2 separate regions of the Homo sapiens genome follow, and region 1 is linked to region 2. Evidence: promoter capture Hi-C in 16 types of primary human blood cells and fetal thymus (Javierre and others, 2016). All regions are on one chromosome and are shown on one strand. The core of a region is centred on a gene start or on the middle of the fragment in contact, and the rest is flanking DNA. Distances in the headings are between cores, read along the strand shown.

The links. Contacts are between HindIII fragments. The CHiCAGO score rates a contact against its expected background, and 5 or more counts as called.
Region 1: a contact is called between the fragment with the promoter of ZNF7 here and the fragment with the promoter of ZNF252P-AS1 in region 2, in 6 of 17 cell types (naive CD8 T cells, total CD8 T cells, total CD4 T cells and 3 more). The highest score is 6.6, in naive CD8 T cells.

The regions. Positions count from the first base shown.
Region 1 is chr8:144,824,886-144,831,629 of GRCh38, forward strand. It overlaps ZNF7 (zinc finger protein 7), which reads left to right and starts at 2,675. Exons shown (of 5, transcript NM_003416.4): 1 at 2,675-2,724; 2 at 4,158-4,205; 3 at 4,593-4,719. The coding sequence starts at 4,203. It overlaps LOC100130027 (a long non-coding RNA gene), which reads right to left and starts at 2,155. Exons shown (of 5, transcript NR_147501.1): 1 at 428-2,155. RefSeq lists a silencer at 1,866-2,995 and enhancers at 2,327-2,852, 2,853-3,378, 3,379-3,904. The HindIII fragment of the contact is 9,547 bases long and covers 1-4,211 here.
Region 2 is chr8:145,000,247-145,006,351 of GRCh38, forward strand. It overlaps ZNF252P-AS1 (ZNF252P antisense RNA 1), which reads left to right and starts at 2,565. Exons shown (of 1, transcript NR_026974.1): 1 at 2,565-5,800. It also overlaps the pseudogene ZNF252P. RefSeq lists enhancers at 2,958-3,534, 3,278-3,407. The HindIII fragment of the contact is 5,513 bases long and covers 1-4,806 here.

The DNA.
Region 1 (6,744 bases), core at 1,425-3,924, 180 kb before region 2:
ACTTCTTCCTTCACAACAGTCATTCTCACGTGTGCATGCCTTACCACACCTGTTAAAACAAATCCACGGGTCCGGGCGCGGTGGCTCACGCTTGTAATCCCAGCAATTTGGGCGACCGAGGTGGGCAGATCTCCTGAGGTCAGGAGTTCGAGACCAGCCTGGCTAACATGGTGAAACCCCGTTTCTACTAAAAATACAAAAAATTAGCCAGGCGTGGTGGCAGGTGCCTGTAATCTCAGCTACTCGGGAGGCCGAGGCAGGAGAATCGCTTGAACCCGGGAGCAGAGGTTGCAGTGAGCTGAGACTGTCATTGCACTCCAGCCTGGGCAACAAAAGTGAAACTCTGCCTTAAAAAACAAACAAACAAACAAAAAACAAATCCAGGATACATTTGAACTCACCTTGAGATGTGGGTGTCTGCACTCACCTTGAGATGTGGGTGTCTGCAGATGGCAAGGGACCTGTGGAGGGGCTCTGTGGATTGGAAGCACCATTGCTCTGGGCTGTCCACTCGGATACGGAGAGTGCTGTTGGAAATGCAGCACCTTGAAAGTGTCTTTGTAGTTGAGATTTTTTCCTGGAAACATTTACAGCTTGGAACTGTTCTATCTGGCCAAATATGAGGAGGCTAGAGTTGCCCCAAAAGTGGCAGCAAGGGAGTTGCCTCAAAAGACTTCCCCAAACAGTCCCGCGATGGAATTGGTTGGGATTCCAAGGAAAGAAGCTCTAAACGCCAGGGTGATCAGTCCAGAGCATTTCTTCCGGAAATTTTCACATGGAGCTTCAGCTTTCTTGGGATCGATGATGAGGCAAGGGATGCTCCACCCAGGTACATTTGCAGCAAGGGACTCTGGCTATGGAGCTTAGATGAGAGTTTAAGGGATTGGACTCAGGGCAGGGCCAGTTTCTACGTGTTTAGCAATAGGGTTGATTGTGTTTTCAAGCAACCTAAACAGCTTTATCAGGGAATGTGCCCGGCCCCATTGAACTGGGTTCAAGGCTGCAGGGAACACGCAATGGCCAGGTCCCAGAGCAATCAAAGGACTCTGTGTTTCTCAATCAGTAGAGAAAGAAAAGGGGGAACTGGAAGACCCTGTGAATCCCAATCTCAGCTAGGGATGAGCAATCCAGGCTGGCCCAGAGCATAAGCACCGTGACCATGTGAGGGCCTGAGTGTGCCTGGCTTTGGAGGGTCTGCTTGCTCAGTGGCCTCTAGACTCAGCCGGGCAGTGGATGCAGTGGATGGAGGAAGCCCCCTCGCCCCAGACAGGACCTCAGGGCCTCAGAGCCCTGGCATCTGCACCCTGGACACAAGGAAGGTGCCTATGAGGTGGATGCTCTAGCCAGGCTTTCTCCCCCTCCTGCTCCTGTGTTACCCTGGTGTGCCCCCCTCACCTGCAGCAGGCCAGGTTGGGGCATAGGGTTGCCGGCCCCTACCAGCCCTGGGGGTCTGGAGGGCGGCTGGGGAAGCAGACCCCCTGTCCTTCCCTATCCTTCGCGACATGCTCCCTGAGCAGCTGCAGTCCACTTAGATGACCAGAGAGGATGTGGGGCTGAGGGAGCCGAACTCGGGGCAGCAGGGGCGGGGGTGGGAGTGCCGGGATCATCCGCACCGGGAGAGGCGAGGCCGGCGTCTGTTTTTCACCTGGGCCTCCCTGGGGGGCTGGGGGCTGCCTGACTCTTCCCTCCTTTGGTTTGCGCAAGTTTTCCCGCGCGGGTTCGGATCAACACGCCGGGGGAGCCCGGCTTACGTCCCTCCTGGACCCCCGCCCCGTTCTTCCCGTGGGGAGGGGCGCGTCAGGCGGACCTGGCACCCTCCGGCTGCTGGGCTTCGCCGGGAGCCACGCGGGGAGGTCCAGGCAGTCGGGACGCAGGCAGCGTCCTCGCCGAGGCTGCGAGTCCGTGGCCGTCCGGGGGAGGCGCGCAGGCTCTGCCGGACGCAGAAGGAACCCGAAGGAGGCGGGGTGGAGGGCGGTGCGGGGCCGGGGAGGGGCGAGGCGAGTGGCGAGTGGACGCCGGGCCCGGCCTCGGGCAACTCCGAGGGGCGCCCTTCCTCGGGGTCCCGGAGGCTCTGCGACCCCGCGGCCGCTCCAGCCGCTCACTGGGGACAAGGCCCGAGCCAGGCGTCTCCGCGAGGCGGGGTCCATAGCGCGCCCAGCAGGCGCCTCCTGTCGCAGGGACGCGGGGGAGCGGCGCCTGAACAGCCTCGGTGGGAACCAGCGCCCGAAGCTGGTGATCCGGGGTGCGCAGGGCCCAACCGGGCGATCCCCTGGATCTCCGCCAGCCTCGCCCCGACTCCGCTCCTCCCACCCGCCAGCGAGTCCGCAACTCCCGGCCCCGGCCCGCGTCCCCAGCTCCAGGCCCCGGCCCCGCCCCGCCCCTGCTCAGGCACCGCCCACTCCGGGCTCTGGGCCCTCCTCTCCCTCGCGGCTCCGCCCCCTGCCCGCCTCTGACTGTACCCCGCCCCCAGGCGCCAGCCCCGCCTATCTGGGCTTCTGGTCCCGCCCAGGTTCTTGTCCCTCGGGCCCCAGCCTCGCCCCTCCTCGGCTCTGACTCCACCCCTTCTCCGGAGCCTGGGAGGCGGGGCTGAGAACCACAGAGATGGCCGGGCCTCCGAGCGGCCCAGGGCGGCCGGAAGTTTGCGGGGCGGGGCGGACGCGGGTGGCCAAGGCCCGTTTCCGGCGGCGTCGCGCGTTTGCGAGCCTCGGGTGGTCCTCAGGGAGGGTGAGTCGGCGCGGCGGGCGCGGACTCGGGTTGCCCTCGGTCCGAGTGATCCCTGGTCGCTTCCTTAGCCCTCCCGCCTTCGGCATTGGGGTCCCCGCGTCCCCCGGGCCTCCAGGCGGGAAAGCGCGGGGGCTTTGCGGGGCCTTGAGCGCCTGGTGTGGGAGGTGGTCGAGCCCAGCCACCCTCCCCCGCGGCGGCGCGAGGTGGGCTTCGTTTGGCCGAGTCTCGCAGCTCCCCGCAGACCCCGCTCGTGGCGGCCACGGTGTCCGGGGCCTGAGTAAGGCGAGCTCCAGCTGCGGCCTTTTCTTCAGGCCTGGGTCTACTCCCGGGGCCCTGACTCCTCCTGCGAAATCACCTCCTTCTAGAGCCTTTTCTCTTTCTATTTATTGCCCCGGAAGGCCTAGGATAAGTGACAGTGGAGGAAGGAACGGTGCCTTGGGTGGGGTAGGCTGTTTGTCTTCTCTAAATTCTGGTTGCTATTCCGGGCATTCCTACTGTCAGGAGCCAGGTGGGGGGATCAGCCTACCTGTGCCGGTGACCTGGGGCTTCCACCCACAAACCACTTTCTGGGCCAGAAGCTGCCATACGAAGACTCTTTTTCCCATTCCGACCTCCCGGGGGAATGCCTGGGCAGGTAGAGGGTCTGGGGTCATTGGCTTAATTGAGGTGAACGATTTATATCAGATTACATCCCTGTGCCTGGTTCCATCCTGGCGACAGGTGAGCTGGAGACTGGAATTTATGTACTTGAGGGCAGGGGTTTCCATGTCCACTCTTGTCTTCCCTACAGTTTGTCATTTTTGCTCCTGCCTTCTCCAACCTCCAGTCGCTCACTGCCTTCCCCAACCTCCAGTCGCTCACTGCCTTCCCTTGCTGCCGGGAATTTACCCACACTGGTTCATCCAACCCCATTTCTTCTTGCTTCAGGCCCTTTCACATGCTATTCCTGCTGCCTGGAGTGCTCTCTCCACCTCCATTACCTTGGCCGAGGTCCCTGGGGAAGTGACCCATTACACTGAACGTTCTAGTCTAAGTGGCTTTCATAGTTCCCTGTACTTGAGCGCTGTCGTGGTTGCAGTGTGCTTATTTGTGTGGTTATTTAACTCTTTCCTCCGCCAGACTGCTTCGTGAAGGCAGGGTCCTCGTGTCCACTACTGTATCCCCATTACTCAGTGCCTGGCACGTGGCATCCACTTCTTACGGCTTTGTGGAGTGAGTCACACATGCCACACACACATACACTCTAAAGAGGAACAAGAGTTCAGTGGGCCTCCTTCACTCAAGTGCCATGGCTGCTTCAGCCCAGCCCCATGTCCCTGCTAGAGAAATCTGGGGCTGGAGGTAAAGGAGCAGAGAGCACAGTACCCCCTTGATTAGCCTGGAAGTTGGGCTTCTGGCACCTTGACCTCTAATCCTTTCATAATTGCCAACAGGTCTCTCGGCCAGAACACGTGGATGCCCACCCACCACTGAGCCTCATGGTAGGAAGCTTGACTGCCTCCTTCCCCTCGCATGTCCTGTGAAGGCCCACCTCCTGCTCTGCCCACTGGCCCTGGGCCCAGACCCTACCTTGGCCCTTGCTGGGCTTAGGAAGGCCCCCTTGCCCCCAACCCCAAGGTAGTGAGCAAACCCCTGCCCAAACCAGGGCCTAATTGAGGCTCTTGAGGGGGGAGGGTTGTATGACCACCATGGACTGGGTTCCTTCCTCCTCCCCGAGACTGCCCCTCCCCAGAATATTAGAGGCAGAGGAGTCCTGGTGAGCGTCTCGCCCAACCCCATGGGGCAGCTGCCTGAGACATGTCATGAGGCAGCGCCAGAAGGGGGCTGGCACCCAGGGATTCCTGGGGTGCTGGTGTGTGTCCTTTCAGGAGGTGGTAACATTTGGCGATGTGGCTGTGCACTTCTCTCGGGAGGAGTGGCAGTGTCTGGACCCTGGCCAGAGGGCCCTCTACAGGGAAGTGATGCTGGAGAACCACAGCAGTGTGGCTGGACTAGGTGAGGCTGCACCTTGGGGCCCCTTCCCCTGCATCATCAGTCAGCACCCACCCAGCCAGGCCTCCATCAGAGGCTGGGGTATGCAGGCCAAACGCTCAGACCCTTGTGGGCTCCACAGGGGGCTTGGACTCATGAGTGGTGTGCCAGGCTGGTTCCTAGCTTTGCCCATGTCATGGGGTTCAGCCCCCAGGGAGTGGGTGGGATTCTGGGAGTTAGTAAAGCCTCTTTTTTTCCTAAGCTGTTAAATTGTGAGAAATAGAATCCAAACTTGAAATAGCTTAGACAAGAAAAGAGAAATTATTGGGTGGAGAAATCCAAGGAAAAGGTTGTGCAACGAGCAAGAGGTGGCAGCGACGCCCACACGGCTGCTTTGCAGATGCCGTCATCCCCTTGCCCCTCCTGTCCTGCCGTTAGTCTCCTCTCTGAACTCCACCACCGCCACAGGCAGCCACTGCGGTGCTCTTTATGTCCATGCCTGTGTCCTCACAAGCTGTATACTGTCGTTGGATTGCAACTTGGTGAGGGGGGGTGCGTCTTAACTTGGGCCTTGCTGGGCCTCTTGCCTGTGACTAAGCCCTCTGCTGCATCACACGCCCGAGAGAGTGCCTGGGCTGGGGGATCAGGAGTGGAACTGACGCGGGCATCGTTGGTTGGCCAGGAGCTTCTTGGGGTGTTGGACCAGGCCTGTCCCCCTCTGTCCCGGCTAGTCTGGCAAAGTCCAGCTTTCTGTTTTGCCAGTCAGATAAGTGTACAGTGGGAGGCTGTTGTAGTTTGAGTTTGCATTTCTCTGATTTCTGCTGAGCTTGAGCCTATTTTCACACCCTCATTAGCTTGCCAGGTTCTTCTGTGAAATATCTGTTCAGGGCATTTGCCCATATTCTAGGTCCGCTGTGTCTTATTGCTTTGAAGGTGTTGTTTCTTCATTCTGTCTAAGATGCCTTACTTTGTAAAACATGTAGTTATGTACACATCATTATTTTAAGAAAGTTGGAATGCTACTGATTACACGCATTTTTTAATCATTTAATTTTACTTTATACTTTTTAAAGAGCCCTCTTAGACTCATTTAGATGTGGTTTACCCTGTCTCACTGAAATAGGAAAAGACACATGCAGTGAGGGTCCTTTTTTTTTTTTTTTGAGATTTTGAGATGGAGTCTTGCCCTGTCACCCATGCCGGAGTGCAATGGCGCGATCTTGGCTCACCGCCACCTCCGCCTCCTGGGTTCAAGCGATTCTCCTGCCTCAGCCTCCCGAGTAGCTGGGATTACAGGTGTGAGCCACCGTGCCCAGCCGGAGTAAGGGTACTTCTAATGTTTCTTCACAGCTTTTAGTGACCCCACTCTCTGGTTTGGTTATCTGTGTCCATGCTTTCCACGTGATGGCAACCTGTGGGCCTGGCCATCTAGAGGTGCTGCAGCTTTTCGTAAGTGGTGTTGGGGTTTTCTTCATCCAGTGAGCTTGGTGCTTGAGCTTTCTTGCTTGGCATGTAGCAGCTCCATCTGCTGTGCCTGTCCTCCTCTCTCAGGCCCTGTGTGTACACAGTTGCTGATGTACCAGTAACTGGAATTGCAGTCATTCCCCCAGCAGCAGTTTGCTTCTCCAGGCTCAAAGGTACAGCTGCTGTTCTTTTTCCATGGCTTCTGTCTATTTATAACGTCCTGCTGCTGTGCCAAGTCACAGGGTAAAGCTTTTGAAGACAGTGTAGAGAGCAGCTGAATTCAGCATGTATTGTATGATGGTGCTGGTGACTTACCTGCAGCAGTGACTGAGCAGCTGGGGCAAGCTCGTGTGTGCACAGGCAGTGATGGTGTGTCACAGCTGCCACCTGGCGGATGACATCAATTCCTAGATGCGTCCAAGAGATGGGAAAGGGTTTTATAAAAACACTATCTTAGGGCCGGGCGCGGTGGCTCATATCTGTAATCCCAGCACTTTGGGAGGCTGAGGCGGGTGGATCATGAGGTCAGGAGATCGAGACCATCCTGGCCAACAGGGTGAAACCCCCGTCTCTACTAAAAATACA
Region 2 (6,105 bases), core at 1,315-3,814:
AGCAGAGACCCAATTATGAGCTGCCTGAACACCCCAGGAAAGGTGGATGAACTAAGTAGCCAGTGGTCTCTGAGACCATATCCCCTCCCTAATTTTCTGCCATACCTCTCCATGTCTCAAGAGAGGCCTTCCTGAGGCCCCTGGGATGACAGCATCCTGAGGCCACCATGTGAAAGCCAGGACTGTGGCAGTGCACTTGGCCAGGAGAGACAATGGACTGCGTTTCCCAGGCCCACCTATGAGGTCCTGCGCAGACGGCAAACAGCTGAGAACAGCGGACCAGGCTCTGGTGCTAAGGCAGCGAATGAGCAAATGGAGAAGTTAACACATATGCATGACACACAGACACAACGCCCAGGTGGTGTCAGGTAATGACAAAGGATACAAAAAATTAATGACGCAGCACGAGGGCAGCGACTGGTGGTAAGAGATATTTTACACAGGATGGCCAGGGAAGACACCTCCGATAAAGTGACAACAAATCAGAGATCTGGATGGAGTGAGGGTAGGCACCATGTGGTTATCAGTGAGGTACATCCCAGGCAGGAGGAGGGCACAAGTGCAAAGGCTCTGAGATGCAAGCACACCTGTGTTCAAGAACGGGCAAAGAAGCCAGAGGGGCTCAAACAGACTAGGGGAGGGTAAAAGAGGTGGGTACCCTCTGGGGTGGGTACCTTGTAAGCCTTAGGGCAATGGGTTTTATTCTGAATGGATGGGAAGTGCCTGGAATGTCTGGGAAGAGTCATATGACCTCAGATGTGGTCTCTACAGCTGCTGCTTTGAGGGTGCTTTGAATAGACTATGGGGTGGGGGTAAGGAACAAAAACAGGAAACCAGTCAGAAGGTTCTAGCAACAATCCAGCTAGAGATGAATGTCCTGGACCAGACTGGTGGTGGCAGAAGTGACAAAAAGCAGCCAGATTATGGATACATTTCAAAGGTACCATCAATAGGATTTGCAGATGAATTTCATGTAGGACGAGACACCAAGATTTTTGGCCTGAGCAACTGAAATTATGAAATTTCCATATACTCAAAAGAGTAAGACTGCAAAAAGATTAAATGTAAAAGTTGTCTTGTATACAGTAATGTTTAAGATACCTATTAGATTTATAAATGGAAAATTAGGGCATTTGGATATACAAGTTGAAAATTCAGGAGTGAGGTTGGGCTGGCTGGGTATATACTGAAAACTGTCAGTACACAGATGACATCTAAAACCACAAATCTGGTTTTATTTTAGCAGTGATATGTGTCACTCCCACAAAAGCCTTCCCAATTGGCCTCAGCATACACAACAAGTCACCTCCCCACAGCCCTCTACACATAAACAAATTCCTTAGTTTAGTTCAGGAGGAAATGCGCCCTTTTCCTTCCGCTCTAGGTGACCGCAAGGCCCAGTTCTCGTCACCAAGATGTTAAGGGAAGTTTGCCAAGAGGCATCTGAAAGGAAATAAGGGGAATGGAGTGACCACAAAGGAAAGCCAAGAGAACGTTGGAGACACGTTCTAGAGCCCTGGCATTTCACAACAAACTCTGGAACAAACCCTGTCTCATCATCATTTAAGCCTTCGTTGGACAGACTTTCTGACTGGCAGCTGAACATAAGCTCATTGATGTCTTCACAGTCTCCAGCTGAGGCACACCTTGGCCAGAGGGAATCTTCCAGTCCTCAGACAGGGCTTGCCTTTGACTGGCCCCTGCTGCTTATGCCCTTTGTGAATCACAAGCGGTACCTCTTAGTGTACTCTGCCTTCACTCCTAAACGCATGTGGCAGGCATGTAATGCTGCTATTAGGCGCATGGGCTCTGGACTCGAATAGGACTGAGTTCTAACCTTGGATCCACCACTTACTCATGCAGAGGTCTCAGGTAAGTGACTTGAGTTTTTCCACAGACCATAAAATGAGATTGACACTACTCCTTAAGTGACTATATTGCGTTAAATGAGAATATGTATAAAATGCTCAGCACAGTATTAGCAAACCGCAAACAATACTAAGTCTCAATTGTCCTAATCAGTAAGTCAGCATTTACCGAGTGCCTACTAAATGAATGAGTGTTGAGCTTGTTCCAGCGCATCTGTGAGATATCACCTCCTGCCTATTCCTTTCCTTCCCCAAAACAGAAGCTCCTTCACACCACAGCTCTCACAGCTTTACCCTTTCAATCAATACATTCCTGCTAAATGAAATGCACTTTTCTCTCTTCTGAAAAAAAAAAAGCACAATTCAGCTCATCCCCTGACATTGCCCAAACTCCCTTCCTCTGCGAGATCTTTTTACCCATCTGGCTTCCCTGCCTCAGTGTTGCTCGGGAGCGTGGATGACAGCCCGTAGACCTGCACGCCCCGCTGCCTCCGCTCGTGCCTCACGCCACCCTCGCCCTGCCCGCGCCTCGGCCAACACAAAGCGGGCGCTCAGCACCCCGCAGCCGCCCTCGACGCGTCCTCTACGGGTCACTGAGGCCGCGGGGCCCGACCTGCGGCCTCTCAGAACCACGGCACCGCCCCTGCCCGCCCCAGCGCCACTCCGGCACCTCCGCACCAGGCGCCCTAGCTCGGGACTCACTCGGCTCGACCACGGGAAGGGAAGGAGCGCGAACGCTAAATCCCGTGCCGCGGGGAGCCAAGCCCCCTGGGCCGGAAATGCCTAATCTGAACTTCCGCCCTGCCCTTCAGCTCACCAACCAATTGAATTCCAGGTTTCGTGGGTCCGCTCTAGGCGGCTGATAGTACTCAATGCTCCGGCAGTCCTGCTCCTTCCCGGTTACGTCCCTTCCAGCCCTTGGCGGAGTCTGCGGGCGAGAGGGCGCAGGTGCAGAGGTGCCGCCGGCGGCGTGCGGCTGCGAAGGAAGGGACCCCGACACCGAGCGTTCCTGCGGACGCTCCTCAACCGGGGGTTGTTCTCCGTGCTCTGGACCCGGCCCTTCCTCACCTAGGACGTCTCGCGGTGCACTGTCCCCCTCTCTCGGGCGACTTTTCCCCCACCTCCAAGTAGTGATCAAGCTCAGAATCCAGCTCGCGCCCGCTGTGCACCTAGCACTTCCCACCTGTAGTCTTTTGACCTCATCGCCCCCTCTAGAAGGCTGCTGCCATCGCTTAAATGAGGAAGCCGAGGTGCAGAGAGGTTTCAGACCTATTGCGGTGGAGCTGGAGTTCGAGAACCAACCACTCGGTGCTGAGACGCGCTTGCGGAACGGGCGGCGGGCGGGGGTGAAGCGGAGTGAGGGGAGAGGCCAGGTGCGACCCGGGCAGGTGAGGAGCACGGGCCCGGAGGGAGGACTTACGAGAATGGAAAGGAAAGCAGCCCGTCTTCAGTGGGACAGTGGGAGCATTAAGATGTCAGAGAATGAGCAGTTGTGGGAAGAGCCATAGGGTATTTTATTTTTTAGAGATGGGGTTTTGCTCTGTCGCCCAGGCTGCAACCTCGACCTCCCGGGCTCAAGCGATCCTCCTGCCTCAGCCTCCCGAGTAACTGGGACTACAAGCAACGCGCCACCACACTAAATCTTTAATTTTTTGGGGGGTGGTTGAAGGTGGGGGCGGGACAGGGTCTCTCTCCGTCTCCCAGGCCAGAGTGCAGTGGCGCAATTACGGCCCGACTCCTGGGCTCAAGCGATCCTCCCACCTCAGCCTCCGGAGTAGCTGGGACCACAGGCGCCCACCACCACGCCCAGCTAGTTTTTGTATTTTTTTGTAGAGGTGGTGTTTTGCCATGTTTCCCAGGCTGGTCTTGAACTCCTGAGCGCAAGTGATCCACCCGTCTCAGCCTTCCAAAGTGCTGGGATTACAGGTGTCAGCCACCACGCCCGGCCCTAAATATTTTTTTAAAAGTTGGATTTTTCATGGTGCCCAAGGGAAGAGACACTCCTTTCCTTTTACTAAGACCATTTCTTTTAGAAAACTTTGTAATAGGAAAATCTTTCTTTGCCCTCTTGAAATGTATGTAAATTTTTTAAAAAGCTGCATAAGCCTCTTGCCAGTTTTATAAACCAGGAATTTCTTTCTTAAGGACCTTTCTTAAGGACCTTGGAGTGATTTCTTTGAAATAAAAAGGCCAAGGAAGATAGCTTCCCTCCTTGTCTCTGTGGGAGTTTAGCAGATGGCTGGCTCCAAGTTGCAATTACCTGCTTGTCATAGAGACATGAGGTTTATTTTAACTTTGGATAAAGGCAGTTAGCTAACACAGATGGCCGCCCCAAGTACCACGTACCTGCCTTCTCGTTTAGAAACACTGTGGGCATTAGGGGCAACTCATGCAGAAGACCCAGGAATCTTCCAGGTATACTCCATGGGATGCCTGTTCCACTCTGGCCCATTGGCACAAGCTAGCCTTTTCTTTTAAGGATAGTGGGGTCCGTTCTGAGAGCGGCCTTTGCAACATCTCACTTCCCCTGTTGACTGTTATTTCTTTTCTTCCTGCTTTCCTACTCCCTTGATCCCAAACTCACTAGGGGTATTTAGTGAGCACTTACTGTTGCAGTAAGACTCTAGCCAAGGAAGACGAAGAGACAGTTGGAGACCAAAGAGAACTTCAATTCGGGCACCCGAGCCTAGAGCAGGCTCATGCCCAAAATGGCTACCGACCCAGACAAAGAAAGCAGGCTTGCTTATATGTCGTTTCAGGCGTGAAAAACAAGGCAGGATACAAGTTTCAGACAAAGACAGTAAATTATTCAACCTGTGACAATTCTGAGAAAACTTACATTTAGTTATCTTGACCAGTCAACCTTGAAGCTGGACAGAGCTGGGGTAAGGGAAAACAGGAATTACGGAAGTATGAGGGAGTCGCGAGGCCGGAGATAAGCTTGGAAGGTTGAGATAAGCTCGCAGGTGCAACTTCTTAGCAATGCTGAGAGTGGCTGCTTAAATTTCTTAGCCTATGTATAACTTCTAAATAGCCTACACTAAATGGTAACTATTACCTATGTTGTGTTTGTTATTTTAAACTTTAATGTTATTTATTTTATTTCATTTTCCTTCCACATTACCTCTGCTGTTAGCAGCTTTGAGAAATGCTGCTATAGGATGTGGGAAGTCATTAAAGGATTTAAGCAGGGAGAGGCAAGATCAGATTAACATTTCAGAAAAATATTTACTGTTTTCCAGCTGAAACTAGTAGAGTACAATTTACTTTCTGGTCACAGCACACAGCAGTCACATCCTGGAGGAACTGTACTTCTCTAAGATCTAGTCTGTCCTGTGGTTTAAATGACCTTTAGCAAATTGTCTTTATTACTTTGTACACTGCTTTCACCAGTCTGCTCTTCCATGGCTAACGGGGCAGAACTGTTATTTTTAGGGTTTTCCACATCCAGTATGTTCATAAGATTTCTACCCTGTGTGAACTTCCAGATGTCGAATAAAGGCTGGATGCTGACCAAAGACCTTTCCACATTTTTTACATGTGTGTAGGGTTGCTCACCAGTAGTATTCCCCTGATGCTTCATAATGGTTGATCCCAGAGAGAATGCCCTTTCACACTCATTACATTCATAGGGTTTCTGTCCAGTGTGAGTTCTGTGATGGGAAATTAGGTTAGAACTTTAAACAAAGGCCTTTCCACGTTTGTTACACTGATAAGGCTTATTTCCAATGTGGATTCTTTGGTGTTACACAAGATTAGAGCTGTAGTTGAAGGTTTTCCCACACTCTGCCTTCATAGAACTTGTCTTTATAGTGAAATCTCTGGTGTTTTCTAAATTGTGTTAGTCCTTCTTAAGGCTTACCATGTTCACTACACTACACAATTCCTCTCCATGGTAACTATTTGGGTGCTCATTAAAGGCTGTACTCTGACGTTCTGCATGTTTTTGAGATTTCATTAGGATGTGGGCTTTCTGGTGATTGTTAAAATGTGAGTTATCTGAAGCTGTGTCCAGATGAATTACGTTGATAGGTTTTCTCTTTTGTGGGAACATTCAGATATGCTACAGGGTTTGAGGTCAAGTCTAGGATGCTGTCAACATTGTTATACTCCTGGCTTTTCTCCCATGGAATGTTTTTATGGATCACTGTGATTTATCTTCACATGTACTTGACTAGTACTTTCTTAAACATTTTCTTAGTTTTCCTCTACAAAGATTTCCCTGATATTTCTCTAG